3 separate regions of the Homo sapiens genome follow, and all the other regions are linked to region 3. Evidence: promoter capture Hi-C in human tissues and cell types (Jung and others, 2019). All regions are on one chromosome and are shown on one strand. The core of a region is centred on a gene start or on the middle of the fragment in contact, and the rest is flanking DNA. Distances in the headings are between cores, read along the strand shown. Region 1 holds the start of GRAMD1A (GRAM domain containing 1A). Region 2 overlaps ZNF302 (zinc finger protein 302). Region 3 holds the start of SYNE4 (spectrin repeat containing nuclear envelope family member 4).

The links. Contacts are between HindIII fragments. The study calls those that stand out against the background at their distance.
Region 1: a contact is called between the fragment with the promoter of GRAMD1A here and the fragment with the promoter of SYNE4 in region 3, in 1 of the 25 tissues and cell types used here (spleen).
Region 2: a contact is called between a fragment that was not itself captured here and the fragment with the promoter of SYNE4 in region 3, in 1 of the 25 tissues and cell types used here (dorsolateral prefrontal cortex).

The regions. Positions count from the first base shown.
Region 1 is chr19:34,998,955-35,001,654 of GRCh38, reverse strand. GRAMD1A (GRAM domain containing 1A) reads right to left here and starts at 1,332. Exons shown (of 20, transcript NM_020895.5): 1 at 1,169-1,332. The coding sequence starts at 1,176. RefSeq lists silencers at 718-847, 1,118-1,497. The HindIII fragment of the contact is 31,318 bases long and covers 1-2,700 here.
Region 2 is chr19:34,683,975-34,686,674 of GRCh38, reverse strand. It overlaps ZNF302 (zinc finger protein 302), which reads right to left. Exons shown (of 5, transcript NM_001289187.2): 5 at 279-2,423. The coding sequence ends at 1,438. Among named protein-coding and RNA genes, the nearest start is that of ZNF302, 7.6 kb to the right of the region's middle. The HindIII fragment of the contact is 3,944 bases long and covers 1-2,700 here.
Region 3 is chr19:36,007,477-36,010,176 of GRCh38, reverse strand. SYNE4 (spectrin repeat containing nuclear envelope family member 4) reads left to right here and starts at 1,364. Exons shown (of 8, transcript NM_001039876.3): 1 at 1,364-1,623; 2 at 1,810-1,960. The coding sequence starts at 1,496. ALKBH6 (alkB homolog 6) reads left to right here. Exons shown (of 7, transcript NM_032878.5): 7 at 624-1,057. The coding sequence ends at 887. RefSeq lists enhancers at 1,111-1,650, 1,651-2,192. The HindIII fragment of the contact is 19,934 bases long and covers 1-2,235 here.

The DNA of each region.
Region 1 (2,700 bases), core at 83-2,582, 1.0 Mb after region 3:
GCCTGGGCGACAGAGCCAGACTCTATTTCAAAAGAAAAAAAAAAAAAGAAGAGCGTTTCAGAGCTAAATTACAGGCATATGCAGGCACAGAGGGTCATGGTAGAACCCAGAGCCCCAGGCACACTTGTACACACACCACTAAGTCACAATGGGACGCACACTGGTAACTTACAGCAACGCTTGGAGCTACAGATAGAATTAATGGTAAAACACACACAGCCCAAGAAGGATCAGAGCTGCTACACACGGTAACTCCAGACACATGTACAAACACTCCAACGTCACACTCAGACACACAGGGGTAATTTATATTTGCACAGGGAGCTACAGATGGAATGAGACACAACACGCACACAACCAGCTGCTCACAGCCACAGATTTGGAGCCCCAGACACACACAGGTAACTTACAGTGACACACAGAGCCGCGGTCAGAATTAGTGGTTAAGTTACACGCAGGAACTCTATCAGAGGCCCAAAGCTGCTGCAGGCTAGCAGCCCCAGACACACGTACACACACTTGCAAGACAATTCACAGTCGGAAGCACATGCGCCCACCTGGACCGGAAGGGGAGTAAGAAGTCAATTCCGAGCACACAGGACCCCCCGCCCTCCATGACCTCAAGCACGCGGTCCTGGAGAGACGCAGGAAGCCCCCACCCCCGGCAGCCCCGAGACCCGCAACAGCCAAGGACGGTGGGAGGGGGCCCAGGCAGGAGGGGGCTGCCTACTCCCGGCGCGCCCAGGGCTCCGCGGCCTGTGGGCCTGGGCTGGTCCCGATCCTGTCTCCATCCCAGGCCGGAGCCCCAGTTCGGCCTCGCGCTCACCCCTGGCTTACCAGGCAGGGGGTTGCCAGGCCTGAGGGCCCTCCCCGCCAGATGAACCCGCGGGCCCCCAGCCAAACCCCGCAACCCAGTGCGTCGCGGGCCGGCAGTGGCGACCCAGACCCCGGGCCCTGCCCTGCGTCCGCGCCCCACTCCCCAGCTGCACCCCTCGCCCGGGGGCCCCCTGCCCCGCCCCCACCCCGATCGCCCCGGCCAGAGCCATGTGCAGAGGCCCCCGACCTCTGCAGCGGCCGCTCCGCCCCCTCCCCAAGCCCGCGGCGCCCCCTCCCTCCGGTGGCCTCCCCCGCGCGCCCGGTCCCTGAGCTCTAGTCGCCCGGTCCTTACTCGAACATGGATGCGGCGCGGTGGGCGCGCCCCGGGCGCAGGGCAGGGCAGGGCAGGGCAGGGCTGGGCTGCGCGGGGCTGGGCTGCGCTGGGCGTCCCCGCAGGGCACCGGCCTGGCCTTCCGCGGCCGCCGCCCCCACCCGACCCAACCGCCCGCACAAAAGGCCGGAGCCGCCGGAGGCCGCCGCGGCGTCAGCGACACCCCCTTCCTTCCCCCGCCCCGCCGCGTCACGGCGCCGCCCCCAGCCCGGGAGGGAAGGCGGGGAGGGGCCGCAGAGGCCTAGAAGGAGGGAGAAGCCGGGGAGAGAGGGACTGGACAGAGAAGGGAAAGCAGAGGGGCAGAGAGACAGAGAAGGAAACAAAGAGACTTTATTAAAACCAAACATCGTGGAGGCAGCTGCCTGCCCGCAGGTTGGGGAGCCCCCTCCCCTAGTACCTAGAAAAGGGTCCCTAGCAACTACTATGCCCCTGGCCAGAAGCTCCTGGACCTCCCAGGGAGGAACCTGAGAGCCGGGGCGAAGGTGGGGGAGGACTGGAGATGCTGGGAAACCGAGGTGTATGTATGGGGGAGGGGGCCTGAAGCTGGCGGGAAGGGGTGGGGCCGGTTGGCCGCCTCCTCCTTCCCTCTCCCAGTCTCTGAGCCCGGGTTCCTGGTCCCAGGAGGTCCGGTGCCTCCGTTTCTAGGGACTTCCCAGTTTTGGTCAGCCAGGCCAAGTACCAAGTCAGAATCCAGCCTCCCTGGCTCTTATCTGTGCTGAGACCTTGCGCTCATCACCCCAGTGCTGGGAGTCCCACTAACTCGGTGGTAAGGGCTTTTCCCGGGGACAGCGCAGGAACGGGCAAAATCAGTCCTTTTACGGAAGGAGAAGCCCGGCCTCTAAGATGGGAAGTGACTTGTTGGGGTCACCTGGTAGGTAGGCGGCAGAGTTGGATTCGATCCTGCTCTGACGCCATAACCTGCGTCCCCCCTCCCCCGCCCCGTCTGCAAGAGGTCAGAGTCAGGTGGTGTCCTGGACTCCTGGCCCAACCACACAGAAATGCGAGTCCCACCTCACAGCTCCGGGGCTGTGGCTCCCCAGCGCTCTCCAGGGTACGCTGTCCCCGCCTCTTTTGAAAAAACTCCCTTCCCAACCCTCTCCATCAACCCTTCCCCTCCTCCTGCAAAAGAAGCCCACCTGACTTCTCCATTTTGATGAATGGCAGGCCCAGAACTTCAGAGTCTTTTCTGACCCTCTCTTTTCCTTCACACCACATCCAATCCGTCACAAACTGTGGGCTCCACGTATAAAATCAATCGCTCCATTCTAAACTCTTCTTCCTCCGCTGCCCACGCCCTGGCCCAGCCTCCATCCTCTCCTGCCTGATCTCCCTGCTCCCATCCCTGCCCCTACTGTCTGTTCTCACCTGCAGCCAGAGAGAGCCTGGGACCACCTGAGTCAGTTAACTACCCTCCTGGCTCAGAGCCCTGCCCCAGCTGTACCTCACTCCAGGTAAAAGCAAAGTCCTCACCTTGGCACCCAAGGCCCCTGTCA
Region 2 (2,700 bases), core at 28-2,527, 1.3 Mb after region 3:
CCTTCCAGTGATTTCGACACAGCACTAGAGCTCAGAACTACTAGATTCCTTTATCCCATCCCTGTGTAATACACATGAGTAATGCTCAGTAAATGTTCTTGAAATGTATTTAATTAAGCCTACTGGATATGGACTCAATAATCCTCACCAAAATACTGCTATTCTTAGTATAAAGAGCAGGCCATTCTTCTCGAAGTTTGCTAGTCTCCCGCTAAAGGCTATACTAAGGCTAATCTTAGTGAAATTTTTTTTTGTCGCAAACAGTCACAGAGAAAGAGTTCATGATATACAAAATGATTTTATTAGATGCCAAATTTTTATTAACACCATTTTATTTCTTTTGCAGCTTTAATTTTTAACATTATAACATTTACTGGCTCCTCTGGGTGACTAAATATCTTCACATGCCCACTAGCTAAAAAGAATTTCTAAGTAGAACTCAACTGAAACTGCAAGCTACTGCTCTAAGAAATGCATACTTATGTTTATTTGCTCTCCTATATAATCCTGTTTACAAATAGCATAACTGCAAAGATTTATATGTAATTTCTAAATCCTTCAGGTTGCTCTACCATTCATCTTCTTATGTCTGGCAAGATAAACACTCTTAGTGAACACTTTGCTGCATCTCTTAAATGAGATTTGTCTCCAGTTTATTTCCTATAGAATAAGGGATGCACTTGGAACTGAAAAATTCCTTCAATTTCTAAAGTTTCCACATTCATACAACTTTTCTCCTGTAGGAGTTTGCAGGAGATTCCTATTGCCTATAGTCTTTCCCACATTTGCTACATGTACACAGATTTTTCCTAGTGTGAGTATACTTAGGTCAATTAAGGGATTAATACTGACAAAGGCTTTCCCACATTTATTGACTTCATATGATTTCTCTACAGTATAAACTCTAATAAAAAAATCTGCATCATTGCTAAAAGTCTCCCATGTTCACCACCTTCATACAACTTTTCCCCAGTATACATTTTTCTGATGTTAAATAAGGGAGGATCTATGAATGAAGTTTACCGTGATAAACACTGCTTCTCTTCTGTAAGATTTCTCACATGTATAGGGATTCATATGATCTAAAGGCTTTTCCACACTTACCACACTATTGGGTTTCTCTCCATTATGTACTCTTTGATGGGCAGTAAGATTCGAGCCTTTGCTAAAAGCTTTCCCACACTCACTACATTTATATGGCTTTTCTCCAGTATGAATTCTCTGATGTACAGTAAGGTTTGAACTACAGCTGAAGGTCTTCCCACATTTAATACATTCGTAAGGTTTCTCTCCAGTATGAATACTGTGATGTTGAAGCAGGGACGACCTATGACTAAAGGCTTTCCCACATATACTGCATTCGTAGGGTTTCAATCTAATGTGATTTCTCAAATGCATATTCAGTGATTCAAGCTGGTTGAAGGATTTCCTGCATTTCTAAACTTCAAACGGTTTTTCTTCAGTATGAATACTCTGATGTTGAACAAGAAATGAGAAGCTACTAAAGACCTTGAGACATTTGTTGCATTCATATTTTTTCTTCATACTGTGAATTCTTTGATGTTGAGTAAGGTGTGAGCTACAGCAGAAAGCTTTCCCACATTCTCTACATTCATAAGGCTTCTCTCCAGTATGGCTTTTCTGATGGTGAATGAGAGACGAACTATGAATGAAGGCCTTTCCACATATACGACACTCATAGCGTTTTTCTTGCGTATGAATTCTTAGATGCTGAATGAGAAGGGACACACGACTAAAAGACTTTCCACAGTTCATACATTCATACGGTTTCTCTCCCGTGTGAGTGCTCTGATGGTTAGTAAGTGATGAGCCATGGCTAAAGGCCTTCCCACATTCAATGCATTTGTAAGGTTTCTCTCCACTATGGCTTATCTGATGTCGTGTAAGGGATGAACCATGGCTAAAAGTCTTCCCACATTCACGACATTCATAGGGCTTCTCTCCTGTATGAATTCTCCAGTGGCGACTGAGGATTGACTGTTTGCCAAAGGCTTTCCCACATTCACTGCATGTATAGATTTTCTCTCTATTACAAGTCTGGGGAAGGGTAAGAGATTTGCTCTGGTTGAAGGCTGCCCCACTTTTATTAGAATTTAAAAGTTTCTTTCCACCATTTATTCTCTCACTTTTTATAACTGACTTTTTTGATAAATTCTTCTTTAATATATCATATTTGTGTGAATTCCCTTCAGCAGAATTGTTTTGTGGTTCAGAAAGAGTAGACTTTGAATGAAAGGTGCTTCTAAATGTGTCGCATTCTGTATATTCCAAATTCTTATTAGAATTTGAAAATTCATAACTTTGTTTTACAACTTTTTCCATTGTTACTGGTTGGGGTGAATCTTCATCATAAATATCCTTCTTTGTTGATAATTCCTTGTTTTCCCATCTTGATTCCCAATCTGAAATATATCAAGAAAGCAAAGCACTGCCTTTTTTTTTTTTTTTTTTTTTTTTTTTTTTTTTTTTTTTTTTTTTTTTTACTTCTTGAAAAAAGCTTCTACAGTGGAATTAGGAGAATTGGATAAGAAATGAAGCACCCAGAAAACACATAGTTCTGACAACTCAAATATTTCAGTGACTTCTGAACAATGCTCAAATAGAGCAGAGAATCCAAAGTTCACAGAAGCAGGAACAGAGTGTGATAAAGGAAATGGGTAAGCTGTACGAAATGGATAA
Region 3 (2,700 bases), core at 115-2,614:
ACCCCCAGATTCTCCTTGACCCCTTGACACAATTTCTCTGAGTGATGCATTTCTAGCACCCCAGTGTTCACAGAAACGCCCCTGAACACGCCGACCCACTCCTTGAGGCTTGCCCTCGAGCCCTGCATGCTCCTGGATGCTCTGACACTCCCTCAGCTGTGCGGTTGTCCTCTAATGTCCTGATGTCCTTGGGAACCCCCACTGCCTCTAACCTCTGCCTCACTCTCTCCTCACCTGGTCCTGGCTTCAGCCATGCTCTCTCAGCCCAGCTCTGCCTGTATTTCCTGGGGACTGCCTATTCCTGGGTCCCAGCCCCAGCCTCAGCCCCTTTGAGATCCCAGCTGCAGCTCCCACCGGCCGCTGACCCTTTGACGCCCCCATCTGCCACCTAGATCCTGCCCCCTCCCGAGGGACGGCAGAGCCCTCGCCCTCCCTTTCCAGCAGCCCCAGCCCAGGCCCCAGCAATTTTCACTCCTGAACCACCAAAGCCTCCATCATTGTGAGCACACTTGCTCTTCAGCTTTTGCCCCTGGGGACTAGCTGATCCCCGGAGGCTACCGACCTCTCGCCCACCCCCACCCCCCGACTTCTTGAGCCCTGCTGACCCTCAACCCGCCCTGCAGCCTCGGCCTCCGCCCCGGCCCACCACCTCGCTACTGCTGGAACCGCGCAGCCTGCTGGTGCTCCGCGGCCCCGCCTACACGCGTCTTCTCCACGGCATCGCCGCCGCCCGCGTAGACGCGCTGGACGCCGCCTCCTCGCCGCCCAATGCGGCAGCCTGCCCGTCGGCGCGGCCGGGAGCCTGCCTGGTGCGCGGCACCCGGGTCTCGCTGACCATCCGCCGCGTGCCCCGCGTGCTGCGCGCCGGCCTCCTGCTGGGCAAGTGACCGCCAGGGCCGGGACCCCTCGGATTCCCAGGTTCCTGCCCCTTTGGGGCTGCTGTGACTCCGCGACCTAGGAACCGTGGGCAAAGGGGGCTCCCCTGGGTTATTTATTTTCCCAATAATTTTGTGTGAGCTACAGAAGACCCCATACCAAATAAACAAAAAAATCTTTCCTTGGTTTTATATTTTTATTTTTTAGGGGCCAGATGCTTGGTTTCCTGAGGGGAGCGGCATCTAGGGTCTTAAATGAATGGGGTAGGCCCTGGAGGTCCGATTTCTGGGTTCCCAGTGGGGCAGAATCCAGGGCTCTTGAGGAGGTGGCGCAGGGGTTCTATCTGGAACCCTCTTGGATGGCGTGGAGTGATGCTGGGAGATTTAGCTACTGGCCTGCTAGGGAGGAAGGAGTTAAGTGACTCTTCTGTCACCTGAGCTGGGCATCAAATGGCCGGGTCCAGGTTCCTCTTGGAAGGGGCGGAGCCAGACCTGTCCTGGGCCTCTCCTGCAGCCTCAGGCCCGGGTGACTCCAGCGGAGGAGCTCTGGGACACCCTTGTCTAGGGAAGAGGTCTTACTGGCTGCCCTCACCTGACTTTGTGTCCCCAGGCCCCCAGCCATGGCCCTGTCCCTGCCTCTGGGCCCTAGACTTGGCTCAGAGCCCCTCAACCACCCACCGGGAGCACCTAGAGAGGCGGACATTGTTGGATGCACCGTCTGCCCCGCGTCCGGAGAGGAGAGCACGAGGTGGGGGCCGGGGCTTTGGAAGCTTGTTCCCAAAAGGGTAGGCGTGGTGGCAGGGGCCATGTGAGGGTAGGAGGTGCCATGGCTGTGATCGCCTGGGGACATAGGAGAGGCCACCAGGGTTGGGGTGACGGTAGGCTGAAAAGTGAGGTGTCGAGACTCACCCAGTCACCGCCCCCTGCCTCCTAGCCCAGAGCAGGCCCAGACCCTGGGACAGGACTCCTTGGGCCCTCCTGAGCACTTCCAGGGTGGGCCAAGGGGCAATGAGCCTGCCGCTCACCCCCCGAGATGGTCAACACCCTCTTCCTACGAGGACCCAGCTGGGGGCAAACACTGTGAGGTGAGCTGAGGTGACCCAGACCCCTTGTGCCAGCCCCACCTCCTCTCTGTCCCCTGGAGTCTGGCCTCCATACTGAGGACCGGGTGATGATTCTGGAAAGGTGTTGGGTGTCTGTAGGGGGAGGGACCTTCTGGAAAAGTGTTTCAATATCTGACCAACTGGGGAGACGTATTTCTTTCTTTCTTTTTTTTTTTGAGATGGAGTCTCTCTGTCACCTAGGCTGGAATGCAGTGGTGAGATCTCTGCTCACTGCAACCTCCGCCTCCCAGGTCCCAGTGATTCTCCTGCCTCAGCCACCCGAGTAGCTGGGATTACAGGCACATGCCACCATACCTGGCTAATTTTTTGTATTTTTAGTAGAGATGGGTTTTCGACTTGTTGGCCAGGCTAGTCTCGAACTCCCGACCTCAGGTGATCCACCCACCTCAGCCTCCCGAAGTGCTGGGATTACAGGCGTGCGTCACCGTGTCCAGCCATATTTCTTTTTTATTAAAAAAAAAAAAGTAGAGATGATGTCTCACCATGTTGCCCAGGCTGGTCTTGAACTCCTGGGCTCAAGTGATCCTCGGGCCTCGGCCTCCCAAAGTGCTGGGATTACAGATGTGAACCACTGCGCCCGGCTGAGAAGCATTTCATCATTGCTCCTGGTGTAGCCCCATTCTTCTTGGGGGGTACCCAGCCCCGCTCCCTGTCCAGACCCCCCAGGCCTCACACATCCAAGTTTCCAGGAGCTTTGAAAA